2 separate regions of the Homo sapiens genome follow, and region 2 is linked to region 1. Evidence: promoter capture Hi-C in 16 types of primary human blood cells and fetal thymus (Javierre and others, 2016). All regions are on one chromosome and are shown on one strand. The core of a region is centred on a gene start or on the middle of the fragment in contact, and the rest is flanking DNA. Distances in the headings are between cores, read along the strand shown. Region 1 holds the start of APOA4 (apolipoprotein A4). Region 2 overlaps SIK3 (SIK family kinase 3).

The links. The method cuts DNA at HindIII sites, captures the fragments that hold promoters and counts their contacts. A CHiCAGO score of 5 or more calls a contact.
Region 2: a contact is called between a fragment that was not itself captured here and the fragment with the promoter of APOA4 in region 1, in 1 of 17 cell types (activated CD4 T cells). The highest score is 5.0, in activated CD4 T cells.

Annotation. Positions count from the first base shown.
Region 1 is chr11:116,822,054-116,826,528 of GRCh38, reverse strand. APOA4 (apolipoprotein A4) reads left to right here and starts at 3,225. Exons shown (of 3, transcript NM_000482.4): 1 at 3,225-3,386; 2 at 3,744-3,870. The coding sequence starts at 3,338. RefSeq lists enhancers at 722-1,016, 871-1,237. The HindIII fragment of the contact is 18,172 bases long and covers 1-4,475 here.
Region 2 is chr11:116,956,456-116,960,930 of GRCh38, reverse strand. SIK3 (SIK family kinase 3) reads left to right here. Exons shown (of 25, transcript NM_001366686.3): 2 at 3,867-3,983. Among named protein-coding and RNA genes, the nearest start is that of APOA1, 120 kb to the right of the region's middle. The HindIII fragment of the contact is 1,562 bases long and covers 1,909-3,470 here.

The sequences.
Region 1 (4,475 bases), core at 1,976-4,475:
AATCCACACACACTCTGGTGGATGCTCTCGGACATGCTCAAATGGTGCAGGCGCTCCCAGCATGGGTGCACCCAGGCGGGCGGGTGAGACAGAAGCGCCTCTGGACCTCTCACATGCTAGTGGCACCGGCTGCTAGGACTGTAAGTCCTGGAGGTCAAACTGCGGCTGAGGTGTCATTCGTGACTCAGTCTCCTCCTCCCCTCTGGCCTGGGGAAGGGACAGGGGCACTGAGTACTGACCTTTGCTCCCGCTGCAAGCTGGACTGTGCCTGATTCAGGAGCAGGGTTGGGACCGATGGGTTCCAGGGAGGTGAGCCTTGCAGGAGTAAGACGTGGCTAACATTTAGTGATCACTTTTCCTATGTGCCAGACATTGTTGCAAGCACTATAAGATCATCTCAGTGAATCCTCACAGCCTAGGAGGCAGGTACAATGGTTATGTCTCACCAAGGTAACTGAGGCTCAGAGAGGTTATGAGACTTGCCCAAGGACACACAGGCAGTACGTGTTGGAGCCTGGATGCCAAGCCAGGGAGTGGACTCCAGCATCTGACCCCAACAATCACGGAGAGATGGCACAGGCTGCATCAAAAAGGAGGCAGCATGGTAGCGTGGGGACCACTACAGGGCAGTGGGGACCCAGCAGAAGGGGTGCCAGAGTCAGGAGGTCATTTGACTGCCTTTGACCCTAGGAAACATTAAGCCACTTCTGGAAACTGAAAAAATGAACACAAAGCAAATTAGAGTTAGTACAATTGTGGTCTACTCTGATGGCGTTCATTTTTACAAATAAATGTAGCTCACTGTTGTCAGGCACTGCACTCACCGACAGGAGCCAATAGTGCAACGTGCCTGGATGTCACCTCATAGTCACTAGGAGTGGTGTGGTCCGGCAGAGGGACCCATGCTGACGTGGTGTGTCACCTTCTCAGTGGATGTTTGTGTGTGATTATGCATGCAGCCTCATTTAGAGATCCAATAGACATCTAAGTAGAAGACCTCCTGGGCACCACCACCATTGCCCTCCATCCCCCAATGGGAGGTCCCCTGAGAGCCTCAGGTCCCAAGATTCTGCTCAAGCCAGCTGCTCCTGCCCAGGGAGTGTGGCTGGGGGGCAAGAAGGGCAGGAGTCAGGCCTCAGGCTGGTCCCACCCATCACCCTGCCTCTGGCCCACCTGGCGCCCCTCAGAGGGCTGAGTCTCACTCTGCCACTCTCACTAGAGGAGGGAGCACTCTGCTACCCTCCCTGCTTTGCTCCAAATCAGGAACACAGTATGATTATTATACAGTATGATTATTATAATAACAGCAACTATTTTTCAGAGCTTACTCTGTGCCAGGAGCTCTATAGGCAGCCCTCTGTATCCTTGGTTTCTGTGTCCATGGATTCAACCAACCTTGGATTGAAAATAATTTTTTAGGCCGGGCGTGGTGGCTCACGCCTGTAATCTCAGCACTTTGGGAGGTTGAGGCGGGCGGATCACGAGGTCAGGAGATCGAGACCATCCTGGCTAACACGGCGAAACCCCATCTCTACTAAAAATACAAAAAAAAAAAAAAAAATTAGCCGGGCGTGGTGGCGGGCGCCTATGGTCCCAGCTACTTGGGAGGCTGAGGCAGGAGAATGGCGTGAACCCGGGAGGCAGAGCTTGCAGTGAGCCGAGATCGTGCCACTGCACTCCAGCCTGGGTGACAGAGCAAGACTCCATCTCAAAAAAAAAAAAAAAAAAAAAAATATATATATATATATATATATATTTTTTTTTTTAAATTGCATCTGTGGGCCGGGTGCAGTGGCTCATGCCTGTAAGCCCAGCATTTTAGGAGGCAGAGATTGGAGGATCACTTAAGGCCAGGAGTTGGAGACCAGCCTGAGCAACATAGCGACACCCCATCTCCATTAAAAACAATGTTTTAAAAAAATTGCATCTGGGCAGGGCGCAGTGGCTCACGCCTATAAGCCCAGCACTTTGGGAGGCCCACATGGGAGGATTGCTTGAGGCCAGGAGTTGGAGACCAGCCTGAGCAACATGGTGAAACCCCGTCTCTGCTGTAAATACACAAATTAGCTGGGCGTGGTGGTGGGTGCCTGTAATCCCAGCTACTCAGGAGGCTGAGGCAGGAGAATCACTTGAACCTGGGGGGCAGAGATTGCAGTGAGCTAAGATCGTGCCACTGCACTCCAGCCTGGGTGACAGAGTAAGACTCCATCTCAAAAAAAAAAAAAATTGCACCTGTACTAAACATATACAGACTTTTTTGGTGATTACCTCCTAAACAATACAGTATAACAACCATTCACACAGCATTTCCGTCGTATTAGGTATTATAAGTAATCTAGAGATTTAAAGTATGTGGGAGGCTGTGCTTAGGTTATATGCAAATACTATGCCATTTTATATCAAGGACTTGAACATCCATGGATTTTGGTATCTGCAGAGGGTCCTGGAATCAATTTCCCATGGAGACTGAGAGATGACCGTACTACCCACTTCGCAAGCAATGTCTTCTTTAATGTACTGAACCATCCCATTGTTCAGAGGAGAAACTGAAGCTCAGGGCTTTGAATAACTAGACCAAGGAGGCACAGCATGGGAGTGGGACATGAAGCACTCTACAATTAACCCTTTCAGGACAAGGCCCTGTCTCCCACACCCATCTGCCCAAAGGCTCTCCAGGGCCCCCTCCTCTTGGGTGTACCTTGACAAGAGACCTAGATTTTAGCTCACTATGCTGTCTGCAGTCCTGGATGGTCCCACTCCAGTGTCTGGTGCTCTGAGATGGAGTCAGCATTAGTGGCGGATGTGGAGACTGGGGGGACCTGTCTTCACTGGGGTAGACAGAGGAGATGTGGACTTTGCCCCCCATGAGCCCGGCACAAACCCAGAGCCGCCAGCAGGGCCTCGAGGCATCAGTCCCGGGCTCATGGGCTCCCTGAGGTGTTTCTCCTACTGTTTTCCGTTCCCCTCCTCCCTTCCATGCTGAGGTTGGTGGGGTGGGGGTGGGGGTGCCCACGCACGGAACAGCCACCACTTCTAACTATCGCCTGAGCCCTGATCTGCTGTCAGCTTCCACGTAGTCTCAGGGTCACAAAAGTCCAAGAGGCCTCTTGGGAATGTGTCACCTTCCAGCGTGGAGTCACACTGAGGAAGGAGGAGGGGAGGGCAGCCAGGGGGGTGGCGATAGGGAGAGAGTTTAAATGTCTGGCTGGCTCTGAGCTTCAGTCAGTTCCCACTGCAGCGCAGGTGAGCTCTCCTGAGGACCTCTCTGTCAGCTCCCCTGATTGTAGGGAGGATCCAGTGTGGCAAGAAACTCCTCCAGCCCAGCAAGCAGCTCAGGATGTTCCTGAAGGCCGTGGTCCTGACCCTGGCCCTGGTGGCTGTCGCCGGTGAGTAGAAGCTGTCTTTGGATGGCACTCCTGGGCTGCTGCTCTGAGTAGTGCAGGATGGAGGCTGAGCCAAAGCAAAAGGACACTTCTGAGTGCCCATCAGCCCCCAGCTGGACATGAGGTCTGCCTGGCTGCCAAGTGGCTCACAGGAGAGCTGGCCCAGTCCCAGTGGTGGGCCCATTGGCATTGGTGCTATACCAGTTTCACATATCCCTGTGGCTTCCAAAAAGCTAAGCTCAGACAGGGAAAATGGCAGGTTGAGGCACCCCCACCATCATCCAGTCTGCAGCTCAGAGCTGGAGCAGAGGGGCCACACAGGAGACGGGGCCTCATGAATTGCTCTCTGTTACCACCCAGGAGCCAGGGCTGAGGTCAGTGCTGACCAGGTGGCCACGGTGATGTGGGACTACTTCAGCCAGCTGAGCAACAATGCCAAGGAGGCCGTGGAACATCTCCAGAAATCTGAACTCACCCAGCAACTCAAGTAAGAGGGACTACAGTGTGCGGTGGTGACGGGGAATTCTTAAAGGCCATGCAATGTACTGGCAAGGGTTGAGCTTAGAGACAGGAGCCCTGAGCTTAGGATACCCACTGCCCTGCCACTAACTGGCCGGGCCTCTGAACCTAGGATCCACATATGTAAACCGGAAGTTTGGACCGAATAATCCCTGCCATGTCCTTTTGCTTTGACGTTCTAGAGTTTGACAAATGGCCACATCCTATCATTCAGGCTCATGGAAGAGAGGGAGGGAGGAAAATGTCACGTGAGCTGATTTCTAATACGTTTCAGAAAGACAGGCCCCAGTGGAATCAAGGGGAGGGAGGTGGGAATATTTGGGAGGCCCCTGGGCACAGGCAAGGAAAGCAGCACCTTGTGCCACTGGAAGACCCCAGCAGAGGTCAAGAAGACAACATTGTGTTACACAATGTGATCCTATGGCCCAGAACACTCCCTCTGGGAAGGACCTCAAAGTCCCACCCTCTGCAGACAAGGAGGGGAAAGCAAACTGCTGGAGGTGACATGGTGGGTAGATTCTGAGACAAACTATGTGGGAGATCCTGAGATAGAAATTCAGCATCGTAACTTAG
Region 2 (4,475 bases), core at 1,440-3,939, 130 kb before region 1:
TGTGTTTCAGATCCAGGATTATGTTGCTTAGTGAAGCAAATCTAATCCTTGCCAAGGAATGCCTAAAGTTGAAGGCTTGATTCCAGAAGAAAATAAAATAACAACAGCACTACCTGTAATTAACATATATTGCCTGTTTACTGTGCCAGGCATTATATTAATCAGGTTGCATGTATTAGCTTTGTTAATCCCCAAAATCACTTTAAAGTAGGTTCCATTGTTGCCCACATTTTACAGATAGGGAGCCATTGGAAAATTAAGTAACCTGTTCTAGGTTATATATTAAGGGATAGTTCCAAGATTTTGAATCTAAGTAGCTTGTCTTCAGAGTCCTTGCTTTCAGTACTATATTCAACTGCTAAATAAAGCTTCACTTTGGTTTTTTTGTTTTGTTTTGTTTTTTTGTTTTGGAGAAAGTGTCTCATTCTGTTGCACAGATTGCAATGCAGTGGCGTGATCACGGCTCACTTCACCCTTGCTAGGCTCATGCAATCCTTCTGTCTCAGCTTCCTGAGTAACTGGGACTACAGGCACACACTACCACACCTGGCTAATTTTTTTATTTTTTGTAGAGATGAGGTCTCACTTTGTTGCCCAGGCTGGTCTTGAACTCCTCGCCTCAAGCCATCCGCCTGCCTTTAACTCCCAAAGTGCTGGAATTACAGGCGTGAACCACCGTGCCTGGCCCAAAGCTTCACTTTTCAATGTCTTCTGGAATCTGAACTCTCACTGAAGAGTAGACAGGAGTTTGATGTTTTAATCTATTAAAACTTCTTTGTACGTGCCTTCTAAGAACAGATTATATTCAATGCAATTTTTCCTGAAAAGATGAAGTACATTTGTTTGTAAAATTCATGTATGTATGTATTTATTTATTATAGTACATATTTATGGGGTACATTTGATATTTTGCTGCATGGATACAACATGTAATGATCAAATCAGGGTAATTAGGATATCCATTACCCCAAACATTTATCATGTCTTTCTGTTGGTGACATTTCAAATCTCCTTCAGCCATTTTGAAATATGTAATAAATTATTGTTAATTATAGCCAACAAAAGGCATTATTGCTAGTACAGATATTTCTTGACTTATGATGGGTTACGTCCCAATAAACCCATTATAAGTTGAAAATATGGTAAGTCAGAAATGCATTTAATTCACTCTATTGTTATCTACCCACGTGATTGTGTGGCTGACTGGGAGCCACACAATCTCTGTTTACCATTATGAAGATCCTATTGCTTCAGAATGCAAATGAAATTTAGAGTGAGTGCCTTGTGAATCAGGGAGGCCCCACTATATGACTCCCTGTGATCTCTTGGAGGTGAAAGAATGCACAAATTTCATAAGTTAACCTGAAGGTCACCCGCTTTTCCCCAGTTACATTGTACATGCCATCAATTAGTAGGGGGTGGGCAGAGGTGGAAGATTTCAGGCACAGGCCTTAGACAGTTGATGCCCTCTGTTATTAAGGTAAATAAATCCTAGCAGTTCTTCCCACCTTTTGCACATCATGGCATGCACAGAAAGTTGAGATTGGAGGTGATCCATTATTGCTTGTAACCCATTTCCAACACACTTGTTTGGAAGTTCTTTTTTTTTCTTTTGAGACAGGGTCTCATTCTGTTGCTGGCACGATCATAGCTCACTGCAACTTCAGCTCCCGGGATCAAACTGTCCTTCCACCTCAGCCTCCTGAGTAGCTGGGACTACAGACACATGCTACCATGCTCGGCTAATTTTTAAAAAGTTTTTTAGTAGAGATGGGGTTTCACCATATTGCCCATGCTGGTCTTGAACTCCTGGACTCAATCAGTCTGCCCTCCTTGGCCTCCGAAAGTGCTGGGATTACAGCTGTTTGGCAGCTCTGCTATGGGGATATATCTGCAAGTTTCTAAGCTTGTTATATTTATGAAAGCATTCTGTACATTACAAGGTGCCATTCACATGTAAGATTTTATTAATAATGACTATTAAGACCAAGCTATTTGTTCTAGGAAGAGACATTGTGTACCATGATTTTTTTTGTTGTTGTTTTGGGAGCTGTCCTGAGAGAAGCAGGAGCAGATGCTAGACCAGTTGTGGAGTTAAGGTCTTGTATGTGATCTGGTGCAGTAATGAGGAGAAGTAGAAATGCAGGTGGTCAAGGGTTATATTATCCAAGACTTCTTACAGGAAACCAAGCAGCTGGTGAGATCCTCATTAAATTCTCTACCTTCTTCTCTGCCTATCCCAGTTCTCTCTGTAGTGAAATTCTGCTTTCTTTGTCAAGTCTTTCCCAGACTTTTTCTACCTCTTCTCCTGTAGGTGAAGGTCATTCACCATCCTCTGTCTGTTGTTATACCTGGTACATAGCTCCATTGCTTGTACTTCCAATGCTGCATTGTTTTCAGTTCCACACATCTTTTTTCCTTTTTAGACTGTGATCTCCTTGAAGTTTAGGCTGTGTCTGATTAATCCTTGTAGCTCCAGCCACACCCAGCTCCTTTCATCACACTCCCTCGTTAGGCATGGCTTGAATGCTCTTTGAGTACAGCTGAAATTTATCTCCCTGTGCCTTTCTCCCGTGGGTCCTCATTTTAACACCTGAAACAGCTTCAGATAAAGTTACTTTTATGCCAGCCATTTATACATCTGAATAATCTGCCACGTATGGCTCCAAACAGTCTTTATTTCTCTGAGCTAAACATTTTTACTTTTGTAATTTTGTTTTCCTGATTTTTTCCTCAGTAAGTACTGTATATGTTCCCTTTACCTCTCTGGTGCATAGAATCTTAGAATGTTAAGATTTGGAGAGGACTAGAGTTTGACTAGTCTAGGTTCTTCATCTAACCAGTATTGCTTCCATACTGATTACATAATTGAAACTGAGATATAGACATATTTTGGAGCAACACAAATATTTTAAGTATTTCACTGAGGAAGTTTAGATTTAGTAAATTTTTAAAAGTCCTTCATCGTTCATTCTTCATTAAAATGTATTTGCTGATGAGTATCTTATTAAAAGGGGGCACATTGGAAAGATATGTTTTATGATGCAGTGCATGTATGCTAAAGAAAGATCTTCAGATTCTTATAACATTCTTATTAAGAATTTGATTCTAAAGCCAAGCTACCTAGGCTTCAATCCTGCACCTGCCACATACTAGGTGTAAATTACTTAATCTTGGGTTAATTACTTAATCTCTGTGTGCCTCAGTTTCTGTATTTCTAAAGCAAGGTTAATGATAAGGTGGGTGTTAGGAGGTTTAAATGAGTTAGTACTTCCAAACCACTAAGAGTTATGCCTGGCCCATAGTAAACATTTCGTATATGGTAGATGCTGCTACTGCTGCTGCCACCACCATCACTGCTACTATTATTATTATTATTGAGTTCTACAAGCATCTGGTGAGATGTGTAAAGCCCCTGTGAAAGTTCTCATAGAACCTTAGTAAGACACCATGTATTTATGATACAAGCTTCTTGCCTTTTTAAAAATTTTTTATTTTATTTAAAGCTTCTTGTCTTAATGAGAGACCCTGTATACCACTCTGCACTGAAACATGATTTGACCCAGACCGTAACGACATCTATGGAGTAATAAAGTATTTTTTCATAGGATTTTACCGTATAAGCAATTGAAGAAATGGCAGAAGACCCATTAGCTTTTGGAGTCTGTTCCTTTGAGACCAACTTGCTAGGAATCCATTTCCTATCTTTTTAAAAAGAGTAAATTAATTTTCCTCATTGACATTCTGTAAACAGAATACTGGCAGCTTATATTTTATGGAACGTAATGTTTTAAAGTGAACCTAATTTTTCTTAGTAAACTGCTTTTAATAATGCATCAGAGTAATTTTTTTCCCTCTGTTGTCAGGTTGCTATCAAGATCATAGATAAGACCCAGCTGGATGAAGAAAACTTGAAGAAGATTTTCCGGGAAGTTCAAATTATGAAGATGCTTTGCCACCCCCATATCATCAGGCTCTACCAGGTAGGATCATTAGTGTATAGCAGATAGCTGCAAAGAACCCAGAATATTGTATGTATGGCTCCCTTTGAAGAAATGTGGGTGGGTGAACATCTGTGACTTTTTTTGTTTCTATGTTAATCCTGCTATCTTTCCTACCCTTCTGTTTACGCGCTCAGCACTTAGTATCCTCAAGTTTCCCCTGGCCATTTACTAGTACGTTTTCCTTACCCAGGTAGGTCTTTTTAATTTGTTCTTTAAAATTTGATGCCATTCTTAGCAACAACTACACAAAATGTTAATTCAGAAGATGATGAGAATTTATTTTATTTAGTTCAGAGTTCTAACACAGGATGGGAAACTCAAAAAGAAGAGAATTTAGAGAGGTGAAAAGTTAGAGATGAATATAACATTTTTTTAATAGCATTATTTGAATACTAGTTTCTGTGATCATGTTATAAATTGTTATGGCAAAGGACTGCTTCTTGGATCAATCAAAACCTACCTCTTTTCTAT